2 separate regions of the Homo sapiens genome follow, and region 2 is linked to region 1. Evidence: promoter capture Hi-C in 16 types of primary human blood cells and fetal thymus (Javierre and others, 2016). All regions are on one chromosome and are shown on one strand. Each heading gives the region's core, a stretch centred on a gene start or on the middle of the fragment in contact. The rest is flanking DNA. Distances are from core to core; before and after follow the strand shown.

Region 1 (4,109 bases), core at 1-2,500:
TCATTGCAATTGTTTTTGAATGCATTCCATTTATGTATTAGTAAAATGTATTATTAAGGAAAGACAAATTAAGTCAGATATTTGGATTAATCATTGAGTCTATCATTTTAGTAAAAAGCAAGGAACTTTCCTTCAGGACTAATATATTAAATAGGCCAAAACACTGACTTGTCATTTAAAAATTTTTTAAGGTCACTTCATAAGTATAAAAAACTCATGCATGGTCGGGCGCGGTGGCTCACGGCTGTAACCCCAGCACTTTGGGAGACCCAGGAGGGCGGATCACCTGAAGTCAGGAGTTCGAGACCAGCCTGGCCAAAATGGGGAAACCCCATCTCTACTAAAAATACAAAAATTAGCCAGGCGTGGTGGCGCGTGCCTGCAGTCCCAGCTACTCGGGAGGCTGAGGCAGGAAAATTGCTTGAACCCAGGAGGCAGAGGTTGCAGTGAGCCGAGAGCGCGACACTGCACTCCAGCCTGGGCGACAGAGGAGACTCCATCTCAGAAAAAAAAAAAAAAAAAAAAAAAAAAAAAAAAAAAAAAGGCATGCCTAATAGTATTTATAAAATACTCGCATACATTTTACATGTTAATATTATTACGAAATAAAGTAACGTTTATATAATTATTTCAATAGCTATTCCTATTTAAGTAATAATTGGGTAAATTTAACAGCAAATACAAGAAAAAACTGCATGGCAAGCTATTTTCCTTAAAACATGATTCTGAACACTAAACGTTACAAAAACAGATACTTGCTACAACTGTGAAGGAGAAACTGCATTTCCCTATTATTACAAGAACAAAGGTTTTCACAAAAAAATTTAAGGACTCTACAGCCGCCTTGTTCTTTGTTATCCCACCCCTGCCCGCCTCGGCTAACGGTTTTGGGGCCCGTTTGCTTGGTGCGTCTGGAACTCCTCGGGCGGCGGGCGTCTCGCAGGAAAAACCGCGGCCCGTACTGCGCCGGGAGCAGAAGCGCTGGTGGCCCTCGTAGGTCCCGTGGGCTGCCTCCCCCTCCTGCAGACACTCGAGGAGCCATCCGGCCGCGTCTCTCGCCGCCCGGCCCCGCCACTAGGCTGCCGCCTCCGCCGCTGCACAGAGAAGGGCGAAGACCCGCCCCTGCAGGTGATTGACGGGCACTCTCCTCCAATGGTCAACGCGCTCGGCCCCGGCGGGCTGGGCAAGGGCCGCGGCTCGCGGAGGAATCTCTCTTGCCCTTTAGTCCCGGGCAAGGTGTTGCGGCCGGCGCCATTTTCTCGAGCCGCCTGTTTCGGGTGCCGCCATGTTGGTGAGGAGAAATCACCGTTACGGCCACTGTCCAAATCCCCGCGTCGCTGCACGCCGCCCGCCCGCTCCCACGCCACAGCCACCGGCGGCGAATAGAGACTAGAGCGGCAGCGCCGGCAGCGCGGGGCCGTTGCCCAGTGTTTGCAGTTAGAGCCCCATCTCTCTGGCGTGGTTGTTAATAGACTGGAAAGTCTGTGTCTGTGTCGCTCACTAGTAACCGTGAGTTTTTACCACTTCGTCACCTGTCGGCGGCGGCCGGGAGCAGGTTCCCGCAGGCGGCGCGGGGGGTCTTCCCCGCGCCCCGCCGCCGCCGGCCTCGCAGACCTGCCCTCCAGCCCCGCCCCGTTCTTGACCAAACATGACAGACTCTGAACATGCAGGGCACGACAGGTCGGGAACCCTTCTTGTCTGTCTTTCTGTCGGATGAGAGGAGGGGTCTGGGGCGGCGGGAGCGGGCCGGGGCCGGGCGCCTCCTGCATGACCTAGACGTCTCTGTGTGGCTCCGTCAGTTCCATGACGCGCACTCTTATGTAAACTGCTGGATCGCGGCCGCGGGGGAGGTCGGCCCGGCCGCGCCCGCCTCCCCGAGCCGGGGTCGCTGCTCGCCAGCGCCGGCCCCGCCCCCGGCCGGGCACGTGCGAGCCCCCCGCCCCCCGGGCGGGCTCCGTGTGCGCCGGGCGGCTCTCAGCGTCCCGGCTCGGTGCTGAGGTCCTGCTTCTGCCCGTCCAGGTGTCGGTGCTCCCGGCCAGATAGGACCAGCCAGGAATTTTCAGGAATGGGTGTTTTGATATTTGACTGCTTCCCGAGAACCGAGAACACCTCTAAAAAAATAAACATTTGGTTTTCAGGGAAGTTTTAAGCAGCACCAAAAGGCCATCTGTTGTATACAGTCTTATCCCTTGGAATTTGAGATGGCAAGTTTCAAGTTTAATATGTTAACACAAAATACTTAGGCTTTGCAGAAACTTAGTTTAGCACAGTTTTACCCTAACGTAAAAACTCCATGGATTATTCCGGCTAGCCCAATTTTCTAGATGGTGTGTATCACTTGAATATTGAGATTCTGATTTTTTATTTTTTGCTCTGTGCCTTAAGAGGCACATTCTTGTTTCCATTCGAGTTTGGGGACATTTACAAAGTATACTGTAGCATACTTAAATTTTGGTTATAATTCAAATTTTCATTCGTATATATCTTTAATAATGCGAAAGGGGGGCTTTCATTCATTAAACTTACTGAAACAAAATCCATTGCATCTGATTCTTACTTAGAATATTAATTTGAAAATCTAGAACCTCACAATTACTCCTTTGTGAATAGAAGTAAGAAAAAATATACGTTTTACTATAGACTATATACATTGCTGAAGTTTTATCTGTAGTAATGTGATCGGCTTGGTAAAGCATCCTAAACACGTTTTTTAAAACCCAGAAGCAAAAATCACAAACACTGCTGAAATTTGAAATATCTAAATACCTAGCAATCTTGAGAGGGATAAAAATGGTATTTCAACAACTTCAGTATTGTAATAATAAAAGTAGATTCCCAGAGGGCACGTCAATCAAAGTGTAAAAATTTTTGGAAAGTAAAATGCACTTTTAAAAATGATAAGCTTGCACTTGGCACATTTTTAATGATTTTTTTAACGTTATCTTTTGTATTAAAAAGGAAATTCTTAGAATGGGTTGACTAATACCTTGCTCTTGAGGTATGGACAAACCAATGATGGGGTTTTGCTAATGGAGCCTAAAATCCTTTTTTTTTTTAATATGGAAGAATATCTGTTCCCCTCTCTTAGTGCACAAAGTAACTTCTATATATGGAGTTATGTATTGTACATCATGAAAAAACAATGCCATCAAATTCAAGTATCAAAATAATTTTGCTGGTAAGGAACTGTGATGACAGACCTTTTAAAGAATTTGAAATTTTAAAATACTGGTTTAGAGGTTAGAAAACTTTAAAGAATTATTTGTAAGATATGTTAATAGGTTGGTAGTAGGAGCTAAAGATTAAGATTAGTCTATTTTATTTAAAATTCGGACTAAAAGTATTTTCTAGTGATTTCTGAAACAAAAAGGTTAGCTCCACTTTAACTTAGCCAATTGTTAAGTGGCATCATTGTGCTGAGATGAAGGAGATGGTTTTTTTTTTTCATGCTTTTTTTGTCAACCCACATGAAAAACAAAACAACTACATCAAAAACAAAGTGAACTAGAAGTCAGGAGAAATTCTACAAGATCAGATCAATGGTTCTAAACCTTCCCTGGGGAACTTTTTTTCTTTAAAGTATTGGCGCTATTTCTGTTGGTCTGGACCTCAGCCTGGGTTTTAAGAGTTCTAAAAGCTCCCCAGGAAATTCTAATATGTGCCAAATTGAGAACCGCTATACTCGATCAGTGTTTCCCAATGATAGTTAATCATCAGAATCACTTTGGGGAATAAATTTTTGTTCTGCCCAGAGCAACTGAATCAGAATCTCTAGGGTATTTTTCATAGGCTCCCTGGGAAATTCTTAAGAAATTTGGGGAAAAAATGGACTAATCTGCGGGCTTCCAAAATACTGTATCTTTCCATATAATAGCTATTTTATGCTGTTATAAAAGTTTCTGTGAATTAAGTGGAGAAAAATATATGAAACTTGGTATATGGAGCTAGGCTTTGTCTCAAGGATTTTATTTTATTTATTTTATTTTTTTGAGACGGAGTCTCGCTCTGTCGCCCAGGCTGGAGTGCAGTGGCACTGTCTCAGCTCACTGCAAGCTCCACTTCCCGCCTTCACACCATTCTCCTGCCTCAGCCTCCTGAGTAGCTGGGAT
Region 2 (4,331 bases), core at 16-2,515, 86 kb before region 1:
GGGTGGCTGACTCTCTTCCTGTCTGGGTTGGATACACTGGAATAAATGAGTCAGAGAACACAGAGGTGATGTTTGGGACTGTTCCACATTATAAATTTGTTTTGACCACATGGGAGATTGGTAAGGACAATACCTGGCCGTGGAGAGTTTAGGAAAATGCTTGAGTTGTCATAGATTCCATGGCCTTTTGTTTCTGATGAATTCACTACAGGGTGACGCCCTCCAGGTGATCAAAGAGAGAAAACACTGGCCAGAGCTGAGTGGGGTGTGGTAGGATGGGGTATGGGGTAGGGTGGGGAAGATCATTCAAGCTAAAACTTAAGAGGTAGCGAAGCTGTAAGAAAGTTTCATTATCTAATTACATGTCAAGCTGCTGGTGAGATTTCCTCACACATATTTTATTTAAATCTTTGTATTTGCCCTGGTATGAGATGGAGCCAGAAGTGTGTCACTAGTTCAATGATCAAGCCCTACATCAAGATGGTTTCTAAGATGGTTTATTCTTGTACTGTTGTTTGGACAAAGGTTGAGACACAGTCAAGAGTTGCTTTTGAAATGTTTCTTCTCCCATGGGCTCAGCTGCGATCTCTAACAACAGAAAAAGGACATGCAAACTAAAGTTACAAGACTTCATTAAAACATTATCCACAGCCTTATGTTTCTAAATGTAGCTATGCTGGGCCAGAAGCCTGCACACCACCCAGTCCCATGTGCACAACACCAGGCGGAAGAGTCTAAGGGCCTGGCCAGGTTCCTGAATGGGAGATGTCACAGCTGTGGGCTAGGGACAGCCCACACATCACACACATCATATGTGAGATATGATGACATATGATGTGGGATATATGTGGGATATATTGAGATATGATGTGTTCAGGGGGACAAGCCTCTCACATGCCAGAAGGTGGGGAGTGTTTGGGGAGTCTCCAGAGCAGGTGCCCTCTAAACTGGTATATGATAGGGCTTTGATGCCAAACAGCCCAGTTTAAAGCAACAATTTCCATCACCAAGATCTGCCGTCATCAAACCTGCTTCCCACTGATGAAATCACGCACCCAGCCCCGGTGCCCACAGCACCAAAGTACAAATGGCTGACTGCTTAGGATGTGGATGATGGCTGTGGACAATGATGGCTGGGCACTTCTTGTGGATGATGTGGATGATGGGTCTTTTGTGGATAATGGCTGGGCACTTCTCCCTGTGGAGTGTCTTGTTCTCTATATGCTCTCTCCTCACTCTCCTCTATGGAATCAACTTTTCTTTTGTCCTTTCAGAGCTCCACTCTGTACTAAGAGTAACTACTGGTTAACCAGAATTCATTTGCACCCCTTTCCAGGTAATATAGTTTCATATTATTTGAGGGAGGGGCTTTAAGACTTTTTATCATGCAAAGTTGCAAACATATGCAAAAGTAGAAAGAATAGTATAATGAACCCCATGTCTGAATCAGTAGCTTCAACAATGAACACATGGCCAACTTGTTTCATCTGCTATCACCCCACCTCATGATGATTCCCAATCCTATCATTTCATCTATAAATATTTTAGAATGTATCTCTAAAAGACAACTTTTAAAAAAAGGATAACCAAAATGCCATTCACATCTAAAACATTAATTCCTTAATACCTTTAAATATTCAGCCATCGTTGACATTTCTCTGAGTGGCTTATATTTTTTTGTTTACTTGCAGTAGGTCTATGCACTGTGATTTATTGATATGCATTTTAAGCCTTTTTTTAATCTGTAGCAGTGGGTCTCACACTTCAGCATATATTGGAATAATCTGAAGGTTTGTTGGAAGACAAAATATAGGGTCATTTATATTGTAGAATTTTTCACAGTATGAGTTTTTCTGAGTGCATCTCTGTCTTCTCTATTTCTTATAAATCTAGAGAGTTAGTCAGATTCAAGTTAGATTTATTTAGGCAAGACTACTTTATTGGTGGTGACAGATGCTTCCAGTAGGAGGAGCAAAATATCTGGTTGCCTCTCTTTTCTGATGTTAGCCCCCGCAGATTGCACAGATCCATTACTTCTGTAGGGATTGCAATTAATATTCTAGTGCTATTGATTTTTTCTTTGTTTATTAGCTGACATACTTTATAAAGAGAAACACACTCTCATCAGTTATTTGGTTACCCTGAGATTTGGTTTGTATAAGAAAAGTAGGATTGATTCTTGGCTTTCCTCCCTTTATTTTTCAGTTTTCAAAATGAGATGGTTCACAGGCATCTTTCCAACATGCCCTGTGAGAGTTGTTTTCTTCTTTGAGTACATTATGAACTCATGGTTGAAACATATCTGATGTTATCATGTGTGTTATCATCTGTATTAATAGTAATTACAGCTACTGTCTTTGTTTTTGCTCAAATTGTTCTATCTTTGGTTCTTGGGAGCTGCTTCGAGGTGGCTGATTCCTTTTGACATGACCCTAGTAGTCTTTTTCATCCTGTATATTTTCTGCCCCTGCCCTGAAATCAGCTGTTTTCTCCCAGTAATCCCTGGTTCCTTCTAGTGGGGGATGGTAATTAGACATCAAGGTCTGAGTGCTCAGAGTGCTCATTGGTAGTGGTTACATCATAGTTTCTTGGCTTTAGTGGCTAGAGCTAGGAAATATGTATTATTAGTATTTTTTAAGATAAAACACTACATGAGTTCATGCTGATACTTCCAATTTAATTCAGGACTACTGTGGGTTTTTTGTTAGTTAGAGGGGAGAACTGGCATAGGGACAGGGTCTCTCTGTGTCACTCAGAGTAGACTGCAATGGTACAACCATAGCTCACTGCAACCTCAAATTCCTGGGCTCAAGCGATCCTTCCACCTCAGCCTCTGAGTAGCTGGGACTACAGGTCCATGCCATTATGCCCAGCAAATTTTTATTTTTTTGTAGTGTTTTCGTTTTATTTTATTTTATTTTATTTTTGAGACAGAGTCCAGCTCTGTTGCCCAGGCTGGAGTGCAGTGGTGCAATCTTGGCTCACTGCAACCTCCACCTCCTGGGTTCAAGTGATTCTCATGCCTCAGCCTCCTGAGTAGCTGGGATTACAGGCATGCACCACCACACCTAGCTAATTTTTGTATTTTCAGTAGAGACAGGGTTTTGCCACGTTGGCCAAGCTGGTCTCAAACTCCTGTCCTCAAGTGGTCTGCCCGCCTCGGCCTCCCAAAGTGCTGGGATTACAGGCATAGCCACCGCGCCTGGCCTTGTTTTCATTTTTAACATAGCTTCATTGATCCTCTATCTGCTCTCTTTCTCTCATTCTGAAAACCTCCTTCTAAACATCACCAAAATAACTACACATTAAAAAAAATTCTTATAAGAACAATGCCAACCTTAACACACAAATGTGATAACTAAAAACAGCTAAAATCATTTTTTTTCTTCAATTCTTTGTGTCCTCAGCATTTATGCGATTAGGGACAGACAGTCAACTTACTGTTGTAAAGTTACTTGGAATGGTTCCCCTCTCTGTGGCATGCTCCAAACTAGAATCAGGATTTACTGATTATACCTCCTTCATTTTCCTGAAATTTTTAGAGATTGCTTTTTAATTTTAACTTTGTTTTATAATTATGTAAACTATTTACATGGTTCCAAAGTCAAATCTACAGAACAAAATGTATTCAGAGTTTATCTTCTGACCGGTTCCCTCCACCCTATTTCCTGCTTCTCTTCTGCTGTAATCAAATTTCCCCTTTTATCCTTCCATTTAAGCAATATAAACAAATGATAAATGATAGCATGCTATTTCACACTTTCCTGGACCCTTCTATTTTGCTTAAAATATTGGCTGTCACTCCATAGAACCATATAGTATGTTTTCCATTGTAATGCTTCATTATGACAGCATACCATTGTTTATTCGACCAGTCACTCCTGATTGACATTTGGGTTGTTTCTAGCCCTTTGCTATTAAAAATATTGCAGCAATATGCATATGTCTTTTTGTATTTTTGCCTTTGTATCTTTAGGGCCAACTTTTCCTCTGTAAGAATTATGTTATTTTCCACCCCCAACAGCAATGTATGAACATTCTTGTTCCTGAATCAAAGAAGGCCCCAGTGACGCCTCCAGTTCTCACATCTGCCCCACCCACCAAACCCTCCTTTGGAAGGACAGAGAGGCCTGAGTGGAGGGGTATTCTACAGCTAGCCCACCTGCCTGACTTGGGTATCTGGGTATCAGTCAGCTGCCACCAGGAAGAGACAAGAGGCAAGCCAAATAGATCCTGGGCACTTGAGCAGTAGAAAGTTAGCTAGGATTCTGGATGGGTTTTAAAAATCACTTTTTAAGAATTATTATACCTACAACACTAGCAAACGAAAA

The links. Contacts are between HindIII fragments. The CHiCAGO score rates a contact against its expected background, and 5 or more counts as called.
Region 2: a fragment that was not itself captured here is called in contact with the fragment with the promoter of ZC3H6 in region 1 in 1 of 17 cell types (non-activated CD4 T cells); the score reaches 5.9 in non-activated CD4 T cells.

What each region holds. Positions count from the first base shown.
Region 1 is chr2:112,274,347-112,278,455 of GRCh38, forward strand. ZC3H6 (zinc finger CCCH-type containing 6) reads left to right here and starts at 1,251. Exons shown (of 12, transcript NM_198581.3): 1 at 1,251-1,680. The coding sequence starts at 1,649. RefSeq lists enhancers at 953-1,525, 1,141-1,350 and a silencer at 1,541-2,020. The HindIII fragment of the contact is 12,828 bases long and covers 1-2,900 here.
Region 2 is chr2:112,188,267-112,192,597 of GRCh38, forward strand. It overlaps a transcript of FBLN7 not described here. Among named protein-coding and RNA genes, the nearest start is that of FBLN7, 52 kb to the left of the region's middle. The HindIII fragment of the contact is 8,526 bases long and covers 1-4,331 here.